Linked DNA regions of Homo sapiens: regions 1 and 3 are each linked to region 2. Evidence: promoter capture Hi-C in human tissues and cell types (Jung and others, 2019). All regions are on one chromosome and are shown on one strand. The core of a region is centred on a gene start or on the middle of the fragment in contact, and the rest is flanking DNA. Distances in the headings are between cores, read along the strand shown.

Region 1 (2,700 bases), core at 77-2,576, 64 kb after region 2:
GCCTCTACCAGCTGTATCTACCTTGGCCTGTGTCCACTGCCTGGAAGCTTCATTACGCAAACACTTAGCCTGGCTAATTCTAATCATTAAATCCCCTCCAGAAAACCTTTTCTCATCACTTCTCCCCCTCGTCTCCTGGGTCCAGACTGGGTTAGGACCCCCTCCTCCCTGCTTTCAGAATTCCCTGGCCATGTCTCCATCATGACAATTAACTCATTTATTTACTCACCCAACAAATACTTCATGTACAAGGCACAAGAGCTAGGGCAGAAGCCAGACAGCAGAGCGAGGGTTGGGGGGCCCAGTGAAGAAAGTTGATGCCAACAGAGGCCATATGAAGTGTGGACTCCACGCATCCCCTGCATATATCCAAAAGGAGGCCTTCTCTGTTTCCTGTCTGCTTCACCACTGGGCTGTGAGCCTTAAAGGTCAAAGTTTTCTTCTATCTGACAATCTACCTTCCCAGCTTAGCACGGGATATGGCCTAGAGTACTCTTCATAGTGCATGGTGGATGAAGAGAAAGAGAACAGCCAACTCAGAGCTCACTCTGCTCTGGCTTGCTCTCTTGACTCTTTAGAACTGGAAAGGATCTGGCCGGGCATGGTGATTACAGGTGTGAGCCTGTAATCTCAGTACTTTGGGAGGGAGAGGCGGGTGGATCACCTGAGGTCAGGAGTTCAAGACCAGCCTGGGTAACATGGTGAAACCCCATCTCTACTAAAATTACAAAAATTAGCCAGGCGTGGTGGCACACACCTGTAATCCCAGCTACTTGGGAGGCCAAGGCACGAGGATCTCTTGAACCCGGGAGGCCGAGGTTGCAGTGAGCCAAGGTCATGCCACTGTACTTCAGCCTGCCTGGGCGACAGAGTGAAACTCTGTCTCAAAAAAAAAGGACTGGAAAGGATCTTACAGATGAGGTCCAATCCCTTATCTGTTAACAGATTAAAAAAACTCGAAAAGTAGCAAGGTGAGCAGAGAGGAAAGTCAAGTGTCAAAACCAAAACTTCTGCTTTCATAGCTTAGTACCTTTTTTTTCTAAACTGTGCTGCCTCTAATTTGAGTTGAACAAAATGTGTACTTCAGTAAAATTTCAGTTATTAATATTTAAAATCACTTATTATATAATAACTTGAACATTCTGTTTGTTTGTTTGAGATGGAGTCTCACTTTGTCACCCAGGCTGGAGTGCAATGGTGCAATCTCAGCTCACTGCCACCTCCACCTCCCAGGTTCAAGTGATTCTCCTGCTTCAGCCTCCCGAGTAGCTGGGATTACAGGTGCCCGCCACCATGCCCAGCTAATTTTTGTATTTTTAGTAGAGATGGAGTTTCACCATGTTGGTCAGGCTGGTCTTGAACTCCTGACCTCAAGTAATCCACCCACCTAGGCCTCCCAAATTGTTGGGATTACAGGCGTGAACCACCATGCCCAGCCAACTTGAACATTCTTAATGTTCTTGCTCCTTCCTTCCTTCTATCCTTCCTGCCTTGCTTGCTTCCTTCCTTTATTTTTTTCTTTTTCTCTTCAAATCACATAGTCACTTTGTTCCCAAAAGGATTTTAGAGTGAAGTGCCTACCATGAGAGAGGCATTCTAATGGATGCTTGGATGTGAAATGAACAAAGCAGGTACCTGGGGGACAGCTGTCTATGGGGGACATAAAGATGTGTAGTCCAGTGTAAATGCAATCTTTGAGTTGGGGCTGGCGTAAATGCAATCACTGAGGGATAATTAAGGTAGGAGCCAATGTAAATGCAATCATTGAAGTTCTCCAGGTTTGGGTGGATCAAGAGAGGCTTTAAAAGGTGGACATGTTTAAGCTTCATCTCAAAAAATGAATGGGGATTGTCTAAGTATTTGAGGTCCCAGGAAAGAGGATGTTCTTATCAGAAGTACAGCAGGTATGAGACAGGAACAGTAGATACTTTAGTCCTTAGGTTGATGTTTGCTATGCTCTTTAGACTTAAAAAAAAATCTATTTCTAACTGTATTAGTCCATTCTTGAATTGCTATAAAGAAATACCTGGGGCTGGGTAATTTATAAAGAAAACAGAATTAATTGGCTAATGGTTCTGCAGGCTGTACAGGAAGCATGGCACTGGAATCTGCTTGGCTTCTGGGGAGCCCTCAGGAAGCTTACAATCATGGTGGAAGGCAAAGCAAGAGCCAGCGTATCACACAGTGAGAGCAGGAGCAAGGAGAGATGGAAACTTTTAAACTTTTTTTAAACTTTTAAACAACCAGATCTTATATGAACTCAGATGGTGATGGGGATTGTGCTAAGCCATTCATGAGGGATCTGCTCCCATGATCCAAACATCTCCCACCAGGCCCCACCTCTGATACTGGGGATGACATTTCTACATGAGATTTGGAGGAGACAAATATCCAAACCATATCATTCTGTCCCCTGGTCCCCCAAATCTCATGTCTTTCTCATATTGCAAAATACAATTATCCCTTCCCAACAGTCCCCCAACATCTTAACTCATTTCAACTCATTAATCAAGTCCAAAGTCCTAAGTCATCTGAGACTCATCTCCTTCTGCCTATGAGCCTGTAAAATCAAAACAGTTATTTACTTCCAAGATACAATGGTAGTACAGGCATTATTTAAACATTACCATTCCAAAAGAAATAAATTGAACAAAAGGAAATGGCTACAGGCCCCATGCAAGTCTGAAACCCAGCAGGGTA
Region 2 (2,700 bases), core at 201-2,700:
AGTGGATCACTTGAGGTCAGGAGTTCGAGACCAGCCTGGCCAACATGGTGAAACCCCATCTCTACTAAAAATACACAAAAATTAGCCAGACATAGTGGTGGGCGCCTCTAGTCCCAGCTACTCAGGAGGCTGAGGCAGGAGAATCACTTGAACCTGGGAGGTGGGGAGGTTGCAGTGACATGAGATGGCACCACTGCATTCCAGCCTGGGTGACAGAGCAAAACTGTCTCAAAAAAAAAAAAAAAGCAGATTCTGTAACAAAGGTCCAGGGCAGAGCCTGAGATTCTGCATTAGTAGCAAAGGCCCAAGTGAAGCCAGTGCTGTTGCTCTGCAGAACACCTTTGAATGGCAGGCTTTTGAAATATTTTCTCATTGGAAGAATCTTCTGTATTTATTAAATTCTGCTTAAAATTATTAACTTTCTTGTATATCCATGTTCATAACAGCATTATTCACAATAGCCAAAAGGTAGGAACAACCCAGGTGTCCATTGACAGGGGACAGGGGGTGAGAAATTTATTTCATGGACACAGATTCAGGTGGAAAAGATGAAAAAGCTCTGGAGATGGAAGGCAGTGCAGGTGGCACAACAATGTGAATGTACTGAATGCCACAGAACTGTGTACCTAAAACGGCTTAACACGGTAAGCTTCATGTTATGGATATGTTGCCACGGTGTTCACAAGTTATTAACTCAATCAGACTATTTAAATGCCCAGTAGATTGCATTCTGGGGAAATGGCTGTTTCAGGAAAATTTTCAGTGATTGCCACAGGGACCTCCCATGGGTGGGGAATGGAGTCTGGAGCACGGCTGCATGGCTCATGGAGAGAATTTGCACAGCCAGGTAGCCCCTGGTCCACTTCTACCCATATCTGGCCAGGTGCAAAGAGCATAGCTGTACCTTCTATTATCTCTCTCAATTTCTTATTTGCACTTTGCCCATGTCTATAGAAGGAAAAACTTGACTGATTAAAAATTACATTCACGGCACCTGTAGTCCCAGCTACTCAAGAGGCTGAGGCAGGAGAATGGCGTGAACCCGGGAGGCGGAGCTTGCAGTGAGCTGAGATCGTGCCACTGCACTCCAGCCTGGGCGACAGAGTGAGACTCCATCTCAAAAAAAAAAAAAAATTATACTCACGCCAGCCTGGGCAACATGGCGAAACCCCATCTCTAGAGAAAAATACATAAATTAGCCAGGCGTGGTGGCGTGCGCCCGGGGTCCCAGCCACAAGCTGAGGCAGAAAAAAAAGTAGCTACTCAGCTACTCAATGTTCACTCTTTAAAAATGCTTTTCCATCATCCTCCACCGTCTCCCACCCCCCACCAAGCAGCAAGATAATTCCCCATCGCTTAGCATCATATAGCTGCTTATGTGACCTTGAGAATGTCCACATGTCACAATGGACAGTCACTTAACACTAAGCAATGACACATGCTAGGAGTGGGGCTGGGCCTTGGGGCTGCTGGATGAATGAGACCCAGCCTCTGCCCTGGGAGTGCAGAGACTCAAGACAGATATGACCACGTGAAGAGACAACTGTAAAACAAGTGGTAAGTGCATCTACAGCCATAGCCACGGGGCACTGTGAGACCACAGAGCAGTGAAAACTAAGCCAGTCTAGGCTTGGCAAGGAGAGATGGAGTGAGGTGGGCAGTGGCTAAGGTGGGAAGACCAGAGCTGGGAGGTGAGATGGGATTTGGGTTTATCTTTACCAATAAGGATGAGGAGCCTGTTTCATCTTCCTCCAGGCAGGTCACAGAAGCTGGAACCAGTTGATCGGGCCGAGCCTGCAGACTCCCTCATCCTTTCCGGCCTTCAACACTGATAGCTCTGCTCTCTCTCCCCAACCTCAGTGCCTTCATCCTCCCCTGTGTTCCCATGGATGCTTGGTCCTGACTTTGCACCTCTCCCTCACACCCAGTGTCCTTTGTTTTTCCTCTGCCACTTGGGAGGCTGATGGGAGGATCACCTGAGCCTGGGAGGTTGAGGCTGCAGTGACCTGTGTTCACGCCACTGCACTCCAGCTGGGGTGACAGAATGAGAGCCTATCTCAAAGAAAAAAAAAAAACACTGCTCTGTATGATACTATCAAAGTGGATATATGTAATTGCACATTGTGAAATCTCATAGAATGCACAACACCAAGAATGGACCGTAATGTAAACTGTGAAGTATGGGCTTTAGTTAGTAACCATGCATTGATACCGGCTCATCAAGTATAACAAACGTACCACACAAACATAAGTAGTAAAAAAAAAAGGGGAAAGCTGTGTGTATGGTGCAGAGAAGGGGGGTTGTGGGAACATTGTACTTTCTAACCAATTCTAAAATTGCTCTAAAATTTAAGTATATTAATATTTTTAAAAAAAGTTTCGTTAAATTAGCAATATAATAGTTGCTTACCCAAGAAAATTCAGGTTTTCAAATATTGCGTTTTAAAAGCAATTATTTCCGGATGTGAGGGTGATCTGGCTGCAACATCTGTCACCCCACTGATGGCCAGGGTTAATTTGTCTGATCTGGCTGGCTAGGTGGATGTCTCCTTCCTCCCTCATCCGTCCACATGCGTCCTTCCAGACGCTGCGGACAACCTTCCCCAACAGAGGAGGGCCGTTCTTTGGGCAAGGGTATATGAGTAGCTGCACTCCCCTGCTAGAACCTCCAAACAAGCTCTCTAAAAGTAATTACTTCAA
Region 3 (2,700 bases), core at 130-2,629, 82 kb before region 2:
TAAGTGAAGAGCAAAGAGCCACCTATTTCTGTCCTTTGTTTATGCTAGTCTTGAATACAAGTTTGCTTTTGTGTGTAATTTTAATTGATGGTTCTGCTTCTGAAATAGCAGTGTTTTGTTATAACTTTTGAGAAATTCTACTGTATTTATTACTTTTATTTATTTATTTATTTTTTAGATTGTTCCCTAAGATTATATGGGTCATCCTGTAGCAGATTGGGTTTCAAAAATTCGGATGTAAACATTGACATCCAGTTTCCAGCCATTGTAAGTACAAAATGAAATGCTGGCACTTTCAGAGTGGTATGGAAATTCTTTCTTACAAATGTAAACTGTCTATGAATATATTTTAGATATTTGAAGATATTTTAAGTGTAATGACAGCATCCGCTTGCCTTCAGTTTCAGAGCTTTTTTTTTTAATACTCTGCAAATTTTCATACTTATTTTAGTCTATAGATCTTTTATACATCCAACACTGGTTTTTCAACCATGTGCACCTGATGGGGGTGTTTAGGTTCTGTTACTTAAAAAGAGTAAATTTTCTTGATAAAATCAACTTTCCAGTGGCAGAAAGGGAATTCAGATTTTAAAGTGTAGATATTTAAACATTTATGATCTGCAAGCTTAATTGTCTCTGGAGTTTCCTCTTTTTGTATACCTATTTTGTTAAAATAATTAGGCTTTTAAAGAATCACACCTAGCCTGGATTTCTGGTTTAAACATGATTTAAAAGTATGTTGATGAGTTAGAATTTTAAAACTGGAGTGTAGCTGGACACGGCACAGTTCTGTAGTCCCAGCTACTCTGGAGGTTGAGGCGGGAGGATCACGAGCCCAGAAGTTCAAAGCTGTAGTTAGCTGTGACTGCACTTGAGAATTGCCACTGCATTCCAGCCTGGGCAACATAGTGAGACCCTATCTCTTAAAAAAACAAAAAACTGAAAGGCACTTTAGTAGATTATCCATTTCTCTGCTGTTAGTTCCCACAGGCCTGTTTATAGATGATGTGTTTGCAGTTACTTGGGTTGCTTGTTAAAAATCCATATTCTGAGCTGGGTGCAGTGGCTTCACCCTCTAATCCCAGCTACTCGGGAGACTGAGGTTGGAGGGTTACTTGAGCCCAGGAGTTCATGAACAGCCTGGCCAGCCCCACCTCTCTCAAAAAAAATCCAGATTCTGGGGCCCCAGAGGTTCTATTTTACAACCTCTTACTTCTTGCTAAACCTGAGTGCTGTAGCTACCTGGTAAGCTACCCAATAGACTGTTTTTTTAACCTTAAATTCTGATCAGTGATTTACCAGCCATAGCAGTTATTTTGATCCGGTGTCATTAATTCATTTAGCAAATATTCACTCATCCCATTTGTATGGCAGACATACTAGGTTATAAAGGACAAAACAGAGATGGTTCCTCTTTATGGAACTCATCTAGTAAAGGAGATTAGTAATTACCTTGTAATTATAGTGAGAGCTGTGCAGGTAAAGGTTCAGGGATAGAAAATGACAAGGTCTGGGCAGAGATACAGCAGTCATGAAGGCTTCTTTGAAGAGGGAACATTTAAGCTGAGTTCTAAAAGACGAAAAGGAGCCTGCAGGAGAGGGGGAAACGGGAGGGAAAAGAGTTTCAGGCAGGGGGAGCAGCATTTGCAAATACCCTAAATCAATAAAGAGTTTGGCATATTCAAGGAGCTAAAAGAAAGGTTGTGTAAGTATGGTGAAGGGACCAAGAAAAAGAAGAGCAGGAGATTAGGATGGCTAGGTAGGCTGGGCTTGACTGGCCGAATTGTGTAGACCATGGTAAATAAAGAATTTGGTTTTGACCTAAGGGCAGTAAGAAGTCATTGAGAGTTGTAAGGATACAGTTTATGATTTTAAATGGCCCTGGCTCCATTGCGAAACAAGGATTTTAAAAAGAAGTGCAAGACTGACTCCGGGACCAGTAAGCTATCTGTTGCAATGGTATTAGAGTGAAAGGTAATATTGTTAGCAGTTTGACAAACTTCCAGCTACCACTTTGAGACTTGCTGAGAGGCAGGTTAACCTCAATAATTAGTTAAATCAGAAGTTAGTTGTATAGTAGGTCTCTTGCCCACATTTGTCTTCATTTGGTGTTGATCTGTCTGTCTTTGACTGACATATGCAAACAACATAGTGAGTAATTTCTTTACTTTGATAGCAATGTGCATTTCTCATTTAGAAAGGAATTTGGGGAACTTCGGATGACTCTTATATCAGTGAAGCAAAATCACTTAGGAATAATTTCATGTATTCATTGATTTATTTCCTAGATGTCTCAGCCAGATGTCCTCTTACTTGTTCAAGAATGTTTAAAGAACAGTGGTAAGGCCAAATTCCACATTTAAAAAATTTTTATGTTGTCTATAATTTGGATCTATCTTATTTCTCAAACTTTGAAAATAGCAAGGCATGCTTTTAAAATTATTTATGTGGGTAATATCCAAAGCAAATGCCCATGAATTATTAACTAGAGTCCTGTTAGTAGTTCTACTATGCAGAATAACCATTTCATAAGTAAAGCTTTTAGCTTGATGACATCATCACTATTTATAAAGATTAAATGAGTCCTAGATGTGACTAAGAAATGCAAAATATGTAAAATGTACTCTTGAGGGTAAAACTGAAGGATAATCTGCTTTTATCAATGGTTAAAATCAGTATTTTACCAACAGTGAATAGGTG

Evidence for each region. Contacts are between HindIII fragments. The study calls those that stand out against the background at their distance.
Region 1: a fragment that was not itself captured here is called in contact with the fragment with the promoter of C9orf153 in region 2 in 4 of the 25 tissues and cell types used here (H1 embryonic stem cells, heart right ventricle, mesenchymal stem cells and 1 more).
Region 3: a fragment that was not itself captured here is called in contact with the fragment with the promoter of C9orf153 in region 2 in 2 of the 25 tissues and cell types used here (liver and mesenchymal stem cells).

Annotation. Positions count from the first base shown.
Region 1 is chr9:86,193,893-86,196,592 of GRCh38, reverse strand. No RefSeq gene overlaps it. Among named protein-coding and RNA genes, the nearest start is that of C9orf153, 64 kb to the left of the region's middle. The HindIII fragment of the contact is 4,388 bases long and covers 1-2,700 here.
Region 2 is chr9:86,258,407-86,261,106 of GRCh38, reverse strand. It overlaps C9orf153 (chromosome 9 open reading frame 153), which reads left to right and starts at 1,450. Exons shown (of 4, transcript NM_001276366.4): 1 at 1,450-1,557. It also overlaps the pseudogene RN7SKP264. The HindIII fragment of the contact is 6,872 bases long and covers 1-2,700 here.
Region 3 is chr9:86,340,642-86,343,341 of GRCh38, reverse strand. It overlaps TUT7 (terminal uridylyl transferase 7), which reads left to right. Exons shown (of 27, transcript NM_024617.4): 6 at 179-267; 7 at 2,289-2,340. Among named protein-coding and RNA genes, the nearest start is that of TUT7, 12 kb to the left of the region's middle. The HindIII fragment of the contact is 6,359 bases long and covers 1-2,700 here.